2 separate regions of the Homo sapiens genome follow, and region 2 is linked to region 1. The links are contacts of gene promoters, found by promoter capture Hi-C in human tissues and cell types (Jung and others, 2019). All regions are on one chromosome and are shown on one strand. The core of a region is centred on a gene start or on the middle of the fragment in contact, and the rest is flanking DNA. Distances in the headings are between cores, read along the strand shown. Region 1 holds the start of ZZZ3 (zinc finger ZZ-type containing 3). Region 2 overlaps ST6GALNAC3 (ST6 N-acetylgalactosaminide alpha-2,6-sialyltransferase 3).

Region 1 (6,567 bases), core at 1,475-3,974:
ACAAAAGTTCTAAGAACAAGGAACATATATTATTTCATAGATCAGATGCACGTGGACTATTAAAGGCCCAGTTACCAAGCTAAACTTATGTAGATACCTTTGCAAAGGCCATTGTAGAACTGTGACCTTCAAACTCATTGTCATTTTCACAATTTCCCACTTCTAAAAATAATAATAAAACGTACTTAACAAATGTTATTTAACAGAATAGCTTTATCTAAAGTAAAGAATTCACAAGGTTTCAATTAAGTATAACCTTAAGCTGCTGACTTTTATGACAGGAAATATCTAGCAATTCTGTGAATAGACCCAGAACTATCTAAAAAAGAATAGGAGGAGAAAGTTGCCTCAAATACCGACTCGGGCTGTCCTCCAACTATTATGAGCCTGACTATTCTTGCACCATGGCTCTTGCCTCACTGTCAACCTTCTACATTCCTCTTTTCTCCCCAACTTGTCCAATTCCATTTCAGTATCAACCTCTACACTCCCAATGTCCCCTTTTCCTCTTTCCAACATCATACCTCTCAACACTCACTTCTATTCCTCAACATTTCTACTTGCACTGTTACAACAAAAAACCACATTGCCCAAAGAGTGGACAATTCTCTTATGTGACTGGTCTGATAAATATTATTACTGGTAGGTTTGGCGGGGGGAAATTACAAAAACAACACTTACAAAATGATAGCCGCTTAGCAACTTCAAGTATATATACCTTTGTTTGTACTAACTACTAATGTCTACCACTCTCCAATTGAGATCACTAAGTTGCATGGTCAAACTATCATTTTAATCACAGTGATAAACTTTTAAAACGTCTGAAAAACTCCTATATAGTTAGGTTACAGTTTAGAATATATAATATATAAAGTTAAATACATAACACACATTAAAGATAAAAATATAAAACTCAAGTGATAAAACATTAATTTATTTAAATCTTGTTTTACATGTACTTTCTTTCTGTGCAAAGCTACCAAGCACAATAAATCAACTTTACTGCAAAAATAAGTTACTTGTGATATTTTCACAAGATTATACTACCAAAAAAATCAGTACAAACAAAAAAAATCTGCGTAAGTATGCATACGTAAGTCTTGACAAACAGGCATATATCACTAAATAAAAATTTAATTTAGTTAAAAAATGTTTACTGATTGCCAATATTGTGTTGGTACCCCATTAAAACAACACTTTCTCCCCTTCATTTAAGAAACAAAAACTAAACCAAAATATGGAAATATCTGGAATGATACACAGCAACCACAAAGGCTGGTTACAGAGATTTAAGACTGAGGAATGGAACTTTGTGGTACCGTGAAACAAGCACTGTGTTACTCTATACTATATACCTCTCTGTATTATGTATAGGAAAAAAAAACACTTTTGTAGTTTTAAAAAACAAACTATGAATAAATTAACTAGTCACCTGATTCGTTTTGTAATTAACTCCCCACTCCTTATTTAGTACTGCAACTACTAAATAAAATCCAAATACTACTTAAGAATACGAAAAAACAAAGGTATACTGTAAATTCACTTCTGAGACATTAGGGAATTGGAGAGAAATATTAAATTGATTTCAAACTCATTTAAGAAAAATAAAGCTCAAACTCTGATGCCAAAATTTATGAGTTTGCTCTTTACTAAAAAGTTGACCTGAGGCCGGGCGCGGTGGCTCACGCCTGTACAGTGCTGAAATCCCAGCACTTTGAGAGGCCAAGGCAGGTGGATCACTTGAGGTCAGGAGTTTGAGACCAGCCTGGCCAACATGGTGAAACCCCGTCTCTACTAAAAACACAAAAATTAGCCGGGCGTGGTGAAGCGCGACTGTAATCCCAGCTACTCGATACTCGAGAGGCTGAGGCAGGAGAATCGCTTGAACCCGGGAGGCGGAGGTTGCAATGAGCCGAGATCGCCCCACTACACTCCAGCCTAGGCGACAAGAGCGAGACTCCGTCTCAAAAAAAAAAAAAAAAAAATCACATGAAACAGTCTGTTACCTTAAATATATAACCTAAAACAACCATCCCTAAACTTCAAAGATGGCAACCTCAGTAACACAGTAGTAATTAAAACCCTACCGATAACTGAGTTAATAGGCACGTACAAAATGATGAAAAGCAGGATTTTATTCTGACCACAGGTGTTGTCAGAGACATAATGGGCCCTCCAAATACTGCCAAAAGTTACTGAAAATACGAAGTCAGGGTGATGAGTAAATGACACCCAGAGAAAATAGATGGGAGGAGTTCTGTTTCAGGAGACTGGAGTCAGGTACTGCAGCAGAAAACGCGACACAATAGTTAACCGGTCTGGAATACTTTAGAAAATGGCAAGAAGGGAAAAACTGACAAGAACATCTTAAAGTAAGAGGAACGGTATCCAATGGAATCATCAGGTCTGCGCGAGCACGGCTCCCGGACTTCCAGTGAGTGGGACAGGGTGGAACTATCACTGCGTGGGGAGAAGGACCTGGCTGAGGGGTGCATATGCTTTTGCAGGTGGTGGAGCGCCCGCAGGGGGATGGGGAGGGCAGTGTTGCCTCAATGGGGTTACTGTATTCCCTTCAAGACTATGGGAAGCTGATGCAGCACGTATCCCGGCACCAAGAGGCACTCGCCCCGGGCCCCTCCCTAACGACTTGCCTTGTAGAAAGAGTTGCAGGTCCCAGGCCCCCGGAACCCAAGGCTCCGCCATCCAGGACAACTGCTCTGCCAACGAGGTCCCGCGAGAATCGAGAGATCTCGCGATACAAACCCACTCGCATCTCGCGAGCTTCCACTAGACCCAACATGGCGGTACAGAAAAAAATCAGTATTTCGGAACTTAAAAAGCACTTCACTAACGGAGTAGTGAACATTTAAAACACTGAGACAGTAGGAAGTCTTTCCGCTTTATACGTCTCCTCCTTTCCCCTTGTACAGAAAAGCAGAAATCTTAAAAACCTCCGATTACCACGATTATACTACATAAACAGAGCGCAGTGCGCTGCCCCAGGCAGCCTCCCTGTCACGTGGAAACATTTTCGGCGTGCCCGTCACGTGGGCCGCTACTGAGCGAGCGCGCTCCCGACGCCCTCCCAAAAGCCCTCCCCGCCCCCCCTTTCGCCCGCGCACACGTGCGCGCGCACCCCCGCCCCACGTGGGGGCTTCGCCGTCGCAGCCGTCGCAGCCGTCGCAGTCGTCGCCTCCAGCCCACCCCCTCCCGGTACTTGGCTCCAAATCCGGGTCCCAAGCCGATCGTTTCCCACCCCCATTCCCTCCCCCTTCATTCTCCCTCCCCCGTGTCTGGCCCTCACCACGTGTCCCGAGCTCTTGCTCACCTTTCACGCGGGGTCGGACGCAACGGGCCACTTGGGGAGGCGCCGCCGCCGTGGCCGCTCTCCGCCCCCGCCACGGCACTTGCTCGGGTGGCCACCGCTGCAGGAAGCTCGATAGCGGCGCCGCGGCGCTTCCAGGTGGGTCCCCGCCTCCCGCTCCTGCCACTTCCCGCAGCACCAGCGGCTCCTTCCGGTCCCCTCCTTTCTCCTCGTTGGGACTGGCGGGCGGCGGCGGCGGCGGCGACCGCTGCTGCTGCTGTTGCTGCTGCTGCAGGCGCGCTCACTACACCGCCTGCTGGTAACCGCGGCCCGTGCAGCGCCCGCGGGTCGGGCGCCGCCGAGGCCCTCCCCGGCCAGTCCCTGCCCCTGGGCGAAGTTTGGTCTTCCGAGGGCGGGTTGCAGTCCATCCCTTGCAACCGTCCAACCTGGCCCTAGCAGAGGAAAGGCGTCCTCGTAGCTCCGCCATTGGAAATCGGCTTCATCCTGCCCTTTGTGGCCTCCTGAGAGATTTGTAAACCCCACCTCCCTTAGCACTGTGGTCTCAAGCCAGGAGAACATCCATACATGTATTTATGATCGTGCTTCTGCCTCGCCTCGTTCACCTCTGGCTTGTACCACAGCACGCAGGCTCGAACCACTTCGGGCCTTTGTGCTTGCCGATTTCTCTGGCAGAACATTTCCTCCAGATTTTTTTTAACTCCTCGATGTTCGATGCATATTTCAGGTCCCTTCTCAGAGGGCTGCCCAGACCACTGTATCCAAAAAAAGTACACCTGCACCATTGCTTTAACTCTTCACCTGCTTTTATTTCTTCATAACAGTTACAACTTCCAGACCTTATTTGTCAGTATCCTCACCACCAGAAATGTAAAATTTTTAAAAGCAGGGACTTAGTAAACTGTTTTGCTCATTGCTGTATCCCCAGAATTGTGTCTGGCACAAAGCAGTGCTCAGTAATATCAAAACAGATCTACCAACTATATTGAGCATGTAGGAAAATAAAGCCCAACACACATTAATGAAGATAAATAACTTCATCATTTATGAGCTGTGGAAAAACAGCTAAACCTCCTTCCGTGGCTATAAAGATTATGTTCCAAAAATATAAAATCCAGTGGTAGAAGCCGTTAACTGGGGCTCTTCTTTGACAATTGTCCAGTGCTGTTTCATTACTTTTGTTTTCCTTTGCAACACTATTTTTTTTTTCGGGCAAGTGGATACGTGTTGTGCCTTCTTTTATGTTGCTAATAAAAGTTATTAAATGTTTTAAATGGTGTTTTGTATTTTAGCTTTGAGTTCAACTCAAAGTAACATCTACTTCAAGAAAAAGGGTTACATGTTTTTAACACATCAAGTATTTATTGAACATACTAGTGTTTCTGGGTGGCAGTATGTCAAAAAAAAACGGGGGTGGGGGAGGCCGGGCGCGGTGTCTCAAGCCTGTAATCCCACCACTTTGGGAGGCCTTGACAGGCAGATCACCTGAGGTGTCAGGAGTTAAAGACCAGTCTGGCCAACATGGCGAAACTTCGTCTCTACTAAAAATAGAAAAATTAGCCAGGTGTGGTGGCACACGCCTGTTATCCCATGTAATCCCAGCTACTTGGGAGGCTGAGGCAGGAGAATTGCTTGAACCCGGGAGGTGGAGGTTGCAGTGAGCCGAGATCGTGCCACTGCACTCCAGCCTGGGCGACAGAGCAAGACTGTCTCAAAAATAAAAAAGGAAAGATAAAACATACTAGTGCCCTATGCTAAGACTAGAGATACAAAAATAAACACGTTTCCCTACCTTGCTCTTTCTACTTATAGAGCCAAATCCTATTATAATAACCATACTTAGCATGCTTTTGATTCCTATGTGCCAGGCCAAATGCTGTGTACTTTTCTATGTTACCCTATTTTAGGCTTCTGACAATCCTATGAGATATATACTATTTGTGGTAGGCCTTGAGATGCACTTTTCAGACCCCACTTCAGGAATAAAGAACTGAGCTGCTGCTGCCAAGAGTCATACCCACAGCCAGCCATCGGTTGTCAGCCCCTTTCAGGCATGCCAGTGTCACAGAGTCATAATGTTCTCAGAGAGGCCACATCCAGTGACTGATCAATGCAGGGATAAAAGGCTCAGCCCTCTCACCTCCATTTGGTACAATTCTGATGGATTTTCTCCTCCTGCAGAACAACTTGCAGGATCAGCTAAGGCATTCCATTGAGACTTCACTGAAGTCCAACTTCTGCCCAGTTCAGCTTTTCTTCCCTCCCACAAGTAATGATCCCAAGAGCATTCCCTAATAAATCTCCTGCACACTAGTCATGTAAGAGTGTGCTTCCTGGGAACCGAGCCTGTAATATTATTTGTATTTTTCTATTGATAAAGCAAGTAACTTGCCCATTTGAACTGCAGAAGTTTCTATATAGATACATAAAGTACTGTGGGAGGGGAGGAGGGCTTCTGGGAAGGGCTTCTTACAAGGATTGGCATTTAAGTTACAGGATGACTTTGCTAAGAAGAAAAAAATAATTCTTGGATGAGGGAACTGCATGAATGAGTATGTGAATGGGAGAAAACTACAAGTAACCCCAAATGGCTGGACTGTAGGGTCTTTGGGGTAATCCCTACAGGATAAGGAGAAAGCAGTTCATGGATGGTAAAGAGGGTAGCCAAGAAAAAACTCTAGGCCTGAGAATAACTCTTAGCCAAGTGGAAAGGGATGGGAGCCCCTGAGATCCTCAATTAAGAGTAGGAAAGAGAAGCTTCATTGCTCCTGGAAAAGGGAACCACTGCCAACCTTGCTGGCAAATACCACTCCCTAATTACGACATGTATATTCCTACATGGCCTTTGTTATTTTTTTTTTCTTTTGGAGACAGGATCTCGTTCTGTCGCCCAAGCTGGTGTGCACTGGCACAGTCTAGGCTCACTGCAGCCTCCTGTGTCCCTTGTAGCTGAGATACGCACCACTGTGCCCAGTTAATTTTTGTATTTTTTATAGAGATGAGGTTTTGCCATGTTGCCCAGGCTGGTCTCAAAACTCCTGGCCCCAAGCTTCCACCCACCTCAGCCTCCCAAAGTACTGGGATTACAGGCGTGAGCCACCACGCCTGGCCCCCTTTGTTATTTTGACCTAGGATCACGTTATATTGAAGATGGAAGATACATTAACATCAACTAATTCAGCAGTTTGTACAATATTTTCTGAAGCACTGGAAATTTCTTGTATACTCATATTCTTATGCCAGGA
Region 2 (7,330 bases), core at 3,653-6,152, 1.4 Mb before region 1:
TAACTAAAAAGAAGCAATGGGATATTAAGCTATCTAAAGCAAACTAGGAATATTTGAAATAGGCAATTTGATTTTCTATAAAGACTAACAGACACATAAGCAACTTATTTCTCTAGTTCTGGTCTATGCATGATAGACCCCATATTGCATCATGAATGCAGGTGATAGAGCAGAAAATTTTGCATGAAAGTTGAAAACATTAGAACACTCAAAGGGAATGACAGATTTTCTCCTAAATTCAAGTAGTTCTAGGCTAACTCGGGAGAAAATAAAAACTTTGTGACTTTTTACCACCCTTCTCAATGATTTCATCCTTTGTTCTGACAGTCCCACCCCTACCACCATGTCTGTGCCATGCTCTTACTCCCAAATGATTGTGCATTTGTTCTCACTGTAATGTCCTCAGGCGCAATCCGTTGCAGAAATGGTTACATTAAATAAGAGACACAGTATGATAAAGCTTTCAAGAGCCAAAGTAATATAGCTGAAATGATAGGTGGTGAGTTCAGTGTTCTAGGACAAATAGCTTAAATAGTGACCACAAAACCATGCTTCAGAGATTATCACACACTAAGTCCCTATTCATTCTATTCTAATTCTGAGAAGGTCAATAGGCTTAGCTGAACTGAGTCAGGTGATCACCAAGCTGATCTACTTATTTCAAGATCTTGGCCCTTAAAGTTTTCTCAGAAGACTTTCCCCTTAAATGCATATGGTTTCTGGAAATTACTAAACTTCTTAGTATTTTTTTAAATATGCAGGCATGCCAGCAGTGATTTCCAGACCTAGAGCATCTGCAAACACCATGGCTGTTAATGATGGGTTTACTGCCTGATGCTTCAGCTTGGCCAGAAGTTGCTGTAACTAGTCATAGATTTTATGAGCTGAAATGATTACAAGAAAGAATGTCTCTTTACTACTGTCTAAAGAAAAGTGGAATGGGAGGCAGCAGAATTAGGTCAAACATCTAGTGGACACTGTGGAGTGTAGGGTTGCTTAGGAGCAAAATCTGATTCTTTAGTTATCTTTTAAAAATAGATGACTCTGGTCCCTTTGGATTGGCACAAGTGAAAATATAGCTGGTTTGTGAATCTATGACAGCCTGCCCTGAAGGCCCCACATATAGTAAATTATACCCAGTTTAAGCTCTGCTTCATTTTATCAATTAATCTGTTTTTTTTAAAAAAAATAATCTGTTCCCAGGGGAAATACAAAAATTAAAATAAAAGGAACACAGGAGAGATGTGGTTTTGCTTATATTTCAAGCTGTTTATTTTTTTCCCTGATGTAGATCCATAAAAAAGAGCATGTGAAAACTGTGATGACTATTATAAAGGGGTTAAATAGAAAGATCAAAATATTCCTCCCACTGTAATAATGATGATCTAAATATAACAGAGTTGGTGATTGGCTTTAACTCTTTACCTTTACCCAGTCTCCCCTTCACTTTCTCAATGAGTGTAAGCTAAGGTTCTTTTCTATGGGGGAGGGGAAGTCTTGAGAAGCAGGGAAGAAAAATGAGTGCCAACTAACTGGGTGAGTGCTGAAATTCTGAAAGTCTTCGCTGGCCACGGAGCCCCAAATTTCTCATCAACACGTGTTTAAGCTGATAGCAACCATGATTTCAAACCAAAGCTTGGATCAGGAGTGATTTAGATTTTGCAACAGACCCTGCCCTCGCCTCCCTGCTGTGTCATTACCGTGTCTATAATGCAATCCCCCATTTTAAAAATGACAATGTGGAGATTCCACCTATAGCATTATGGCAGAATTACTGTATTATCAACTGGCTTTGGATATGGTAAAAAGTATATGTCACCCATGTATTTTTCCAGAAAAAAATTAAAAACAGAAACGTGCTTCACAATATCCTAAAACCCTATTTTCCCCTTGAAACAAATGCTATTTATTTTAAATTATTAATTATAGCAGACAGAGGAGGTATAAAGGACTAAGGTAGTCCAGGGCTTGGTTCAAGGTAATCTTGCTTTCTCCTGTTGAGATCATGGCAGATTTTTGGGAAAAAGGAGAAAACGAACTTCAAGCTAGGTTCTATTTGTAGTTGCCTATGAGGGACTCAGTCATTGTGTTGTCTTTTTTGTTGTGTGACCTGGTGTGAAGACATTGCTCAGAGCAAGCAGCCTGCAGTTTATTTGCATTTACTGCTAGATGAAAGGATCCAGCTTGGGTGATCAATAGGATGCCAAGGCCAGATCTTATTGGTAATCAGTGAGGGTGACAGATGTCTTCCTTAGACCTGATAGGATCTTCCCCTTAAGATGCTGGGGCTACAGAGGATTTCTGGTATTTGGGGAAGAGTGCCCTTTCCCTGGGTGCCTGAAATGTGCCAAGTGGAGAGGTGCAAGATTGCCAGAACACAGGAAGCAAGTGCAGGGCTGCATACTGACTTACTCGACAATTTAATGAGGCTGAAGTATGCCTCTTTAAAAAATGAGAACGTTTTAAAACCTCAAGTAGACTAAATAGGAATATTTAGGATCAGTTGCTGTGACAGACAGGCCACACTAGCCTAATTAAAGATGTGCATAACATATTGATGTTGCAATAGAATTTCCCAAATTATGGTTATAGTAACAATTAAGGAAGAGAGCTGACTTTCTTGGTGATAAAAGCACACACTCCACACATTTAAATAAATGTACACATGTAACTAAAGCTGACATGAATAGGTTTTCTATATTTGGTAATAGAGGCTTTGGGTTTTACGTAAGTATATTGAGAGCAATTATGTGCAAATGTATGTCCCAAAAGTTTAAAACTGATCCATTTAATTGTTAATTAAAATCCGAACATTCCCATTTATGTAATCATAAAGCAAAATGAAATTTGAGTATTAAATGTTATAGAAAAGGAAACAGCTAAATTAACATATAATAAATCAAAACTTTGTGACTTTTTACCACCCTCCTCATTGATTTCATCCTTTGTTCTGACAGCCCCACCCCTACCAGCATGTCTGTACCATGCTCTTACTCCCAAATGAATTTGACATGTGTGTATTGGATTTGTCATTTTAAGGATAATTTATCATTTTTCTCAAGTATGAAAGGATATATTTTTTGAGTGGAGAAGAGATGACTATGTTTCTCAGTCTGGTTGTGAAATAGCAACTTTCAATCAATGACCATATCTCCAGACAATCTATGAGTGCCAGATGAGAAGGACAGATGCCACTGTGGGTTAGAATATTTCCAGGAAGCTTTTGTGGGAGAGGTGAGACATGTGCTTTGGAGAAAGATTTGGATGGGACAGAGGAAGAAGACAAAGCAGAGTTGGGTAAAAAAGCAAAGGTTCAGAATATGTATTGTGCATTTTCCTTCAGCCCCTATGACTCCCAGTAGGCCAAGGACACTATATGGAAAGCTACAGTAAAGCCCTAATGTCTATGCTGGTAATCGTCATTGCCTCACACTTGGTGGATCCATTTCATACCTTTCTCTGGATTCAATACCTTTAGTCCTAATCGTGTGGCTCTTCTTTTTGTTTGGCTGGTTATCTAGTCTTGTAGTGCTCTTACCTTGGCCCTACTGCCCTGCATACTATGTAGGGGGTCACTTCTAATAATGCTTCTCTCTGTGTACCCCTGACATGGACACAACTCCCCATTTCCAAGGGGCCCCTGAAGTACTGCCCAGGCCTCTGCAATCCTCTGACTTCCAGAGAAGGAAGTCAGGCACATGTACAGGTAATACATAGGTCAACCTGGCTGGAACTTACTCTGGAATATAGAAGAAGATAGAAAATGCATTCATTGGGTAATTATGATCTGGGAATGTGAGTGGGATTATGGAAAGACCACACTCCTATTTAGACATAGGAGTAATACATACATGTAATATATATATACATTCATAGTTATGAATCAGTATATACAAGTATATGGAAAATACATACATGTATGCATGCATGCAGCATATACATGCATACATGTTCACAGATCAAGTTCTAGCCACTTAAATACAAACATACATAGAATATATACAACATACTATGTTATACATTAAAATGGTATGTAAAATGGTGTGTAAATGGTGTAAAATGGTATATATATACACACACACACACACACACATTATATATATATATATATAGTCAGGTAGGTGTATAGTGTGCCTTTTGCGGTTGTCTACTCTCCACCTTCCCTTTATTAGAGAAGGTGGCCCTTCCTTTTGACCACAAGGGTGAGCAGAAAAGTCAGGCTAGTGATTGGTCAATCAAGTGATTGGTTGAGGGGTGGGCTCATGGCCCAAGATGAGCCATTCTGAAGCCTTCTCAAATTTTATTATGTTTTTCTGGGACACACTGGCAGGAAAGGCCCCCTTTTCTCTGGTGGTAAAGCTGTTGGGATGTGATTCTCTGGATGTCAGTAGCTGTGTTCCCAAGACAGAATGAGACAAAGACACTGAGAGAAGCAGAAACAAGTTGCAAGGCTAATGTGAAGACCCAGACAACACTTCAGGTCCTGAGCTCAATTCTTGAAGGCAGCCTCCCCTCCCATCCCCCATGGTTTGGGTGTATAAGCCAATATATTTGTCTTCTTTTTACTTTTGCTGGTTTGAACTGTTTTTGTCCCTTGCAACCAAAAAAGTCCTAGCTGATATATTGTAGTTATTTTACAGCCACCACCACCAAATGTTCAGTAACTCATCTTTAAACAAGGTGCCATCTGAAGGAGGAGAGGAGTAGTCTTTCCAAATCTGCACTCTCAAACCTGCTGGGGGGCCAAACACAAGTCACATCCATCAGTCAGTGCAGGTGTCTGCAAGGGGTGAACGCTGTCTATCTTTCTGCTTAGGTGCATATTGCTTAGTAAACTAGCTTATCCTTTTGTGGTAGAAAAATGAAGGTCAATTTCCCAAGGTTATAATGCCAGAAAATGGCTGGACAAGACTGACTACTACCTGAATTGCTAGTCGTACTCAACTGATAAATCATATAGTTTCATTATAATTGTTAGATGAAAATTTCTCTATTGCTGTGAGGCATCAGCAGTCAAACTAGATTGATTTTCACTTTACAAATCACATTTTTTATTGATGAAAAATCCATTATTATCATAGGTTTTAATGTAGTGATCGGTTCCTCAGGAAGATATACCGCAGTTTTATTTATTACAGAGCCTTAGGTAGAAAAGTCCCCATTTGCCAACTATCTTGTTAACGCACTTGAAAGGGGCCTATTAGAAATTCAACTATCAAATTACCTCATTTGTGACAAGCAAAGGAAAACAAAACAGTGTATCTATCACAAATACCTTGATTTGAGGGTTGAAAAAGATGATAGAACTCATGTCCTGATGTAGAGAGTTTTTCTATAGCTCTTCTCAAGCTGATGGCCTGGCAGAGTGACTAGTGCGAAAAGCTTTCATCAAATGGCAATTGGTATTAACCAAATACCAAATATTTTGAAAAGTGCTTATTCTGTTCCAGACATTGTGCTAAGGATCAGCAATGAACTGTAATTTAAAGAAGTGTTAAAATTGGGGTTCACCAAAGAAGAGAACAACATGGACCCAAGTTAGGAGTATCCTGGAACAATACCACCTAGAAGGTGTTTGCATTGCAGCCTGTAATGATGATGGCTGAGTAACCATCTTACACAAGAAATTCATTTCACTGTTCTTAAGAATAGTGAACATTCAAGTAATTTCAATTAAACACTTATATTTAATGTCTAAAAGGTAATTTGTCACTAAGTAGATGGCATCAAATTGTGAGTTCTTATTTTTCAGAGTAGCCTTACAAAGCCTTATTCACAAAAGAAAGATAGCCATTACAGAATATTTCATTTCAAAAATAACTATATGCTTTTATATCAAATGTTATCCACCACTGCCCCCCACCCCCCCACAAGTTTGGGAAATAGTATGTCTGGTTAACCGAGTCATCTGACTAATAGGCATTTGCCAAGTATTTAATAAATGGATTCTTTATTTATTCATTTATTGACATGGAGTCTCGCTCTGTCACTTAGGCTGGAGTTCAGTGGCACGATCTCGGCTCACTGCAACCTCCACCTCCTCGGCTCAAGCGATTCTCCTGCCTCAGCCTCCCGAGTAGCTGGGATTACAGGCACCTGCCACCATGCCCAAAAATTTTGTATTTTGTAAAAATACAAAAATTACCTCTAGAAATACCCTGCTGTGGTGTTTCATAATATGTGTATTTGAGTATTTGCTCTGTTGTCTTCTTCAAATATGAACATTTATGAATCCCAAAGTATACCTGGTTCAAATGATTTTAGATAAGGGATTGCAGGCCTGTGTCAAACACAGACTATAAAAATGATTAAGAATGAATAAAATACATGGGAAGCAAAGTTCTAGCAAAAATAAAATATCTCTGAAAAATAATTGAATATAATGACTAGAAATAAATAAATAAAATTGTAATACCTCAGTGGTTAGGTTAAATGACAGTCACTGTGTTAAGTATTTTATGTGCCATTTTCTTTTAGCTCTTACAGAGTACATACTATTTTACTGATTTAACTAATTTTTCAAGGCCCCCAAAGTATTGATTCTATGCTAGTGTCTTTCATTGTCCTGTGTGGCAAAACAAGAACCTAAGACTATCCTAGTCAACAAATTCCTTTAAATGGTTTCACAGAGTGTCTGCCAATTCATGAAGTCAGTAAGTTCATGGAATCCCATTTGTTGAATTTACTACATGCAACGCACTGTGCTAGGCTCTGAAATTGTAAAAAAGAAAACACTTTTTGCCTAGGGATAAATAAAATTTTTTCATAATGTTAAAGGCTAATAAAGAAGGTAGAATAACATGTGAAAGATTATTTTAACTCTTTAAATGTAGTCATAGAAAGAAAGTTTGGAGATAATACTTCAAAATATTAACTGTGATGGTCTATATCTGGGTTGTAAATTTTAGAATTTTTTTAAAAAACATGTTTTCCAAATTTTCTACAATGAGCACATATTGTATTTATTACTAGAATTTTTTTTTTTTGAGATGGAGTCTCATTCTATAGCCCAAGCTGGAGTGCAGTGGTGTGACCTTGGCTGACTACGACCTCTACCTCCCAGGCTCAAGTGATTCTCGTGCCTCAGCCTCCCAAGTAGTTGGGACAACAGGTGTGCACCACCATGCCCGGCTTAATTTTTGTGTTTTAGTAAAGACATGGTTTCACCATGTTGCCCAAGGTGGTCTCGAACTCCTGAGCCTGATCCGCCCGCCTTGGCCTCCCAGAGTGCTGGGATTACAGGTGTGAGCCACCATGCCCGGTTGAAGAAGTATTTTTTAAGCAATGTATATCTGTGAAACACTCTAGAACTTTCACTATCATTTAAAGA

The links. Contacts are between HindIII fragments. The study calls those that stand out against the background at their distance.
Region 2: a fragment that was not itself captured here is called in contact with the fragment with the promoter of ZZZ3 in region 1 in 1 of the 25 tissues and cell types used here (dorsolateral prefrontal cortex).

The regions. Positions count from the first base shown.
Region 1 is chr1:77,679,934-77,686,500 of GRCh38, forward strand. It overlaps ZZZ3 (zinc finger ZZ-type containing 3), which reads right to left and starts at 2,725. Exons shown (of 15, transcript NM_015534.6): 1 at 2,652-2,725. RefSeq lists enhancers at 2,781-2,860, 3,678-4,451, 3,881-3,980 and silencers at 3,241-3,660, 3,671-3,730. The HindIII fragment of the contact is 15,193 bases long and covers 1-6,567 here.
Region 2 is chr1:76,316,892-76,324,221 of GRCh38, forward strand. The region is part of intron 2 of ST6GALNAC3 (ST6 N-acetylgalactosaminide alpha-2,6-sialyltransferase 3); the gene reads left to right. Among named protein-coding and RNA genes, the nearest start is that of ST6GALNAC3, 250 kb to the left of the region's middle. The HindIII fragment of the contact is 4,951 bases long and covers 2,428-7,330 here.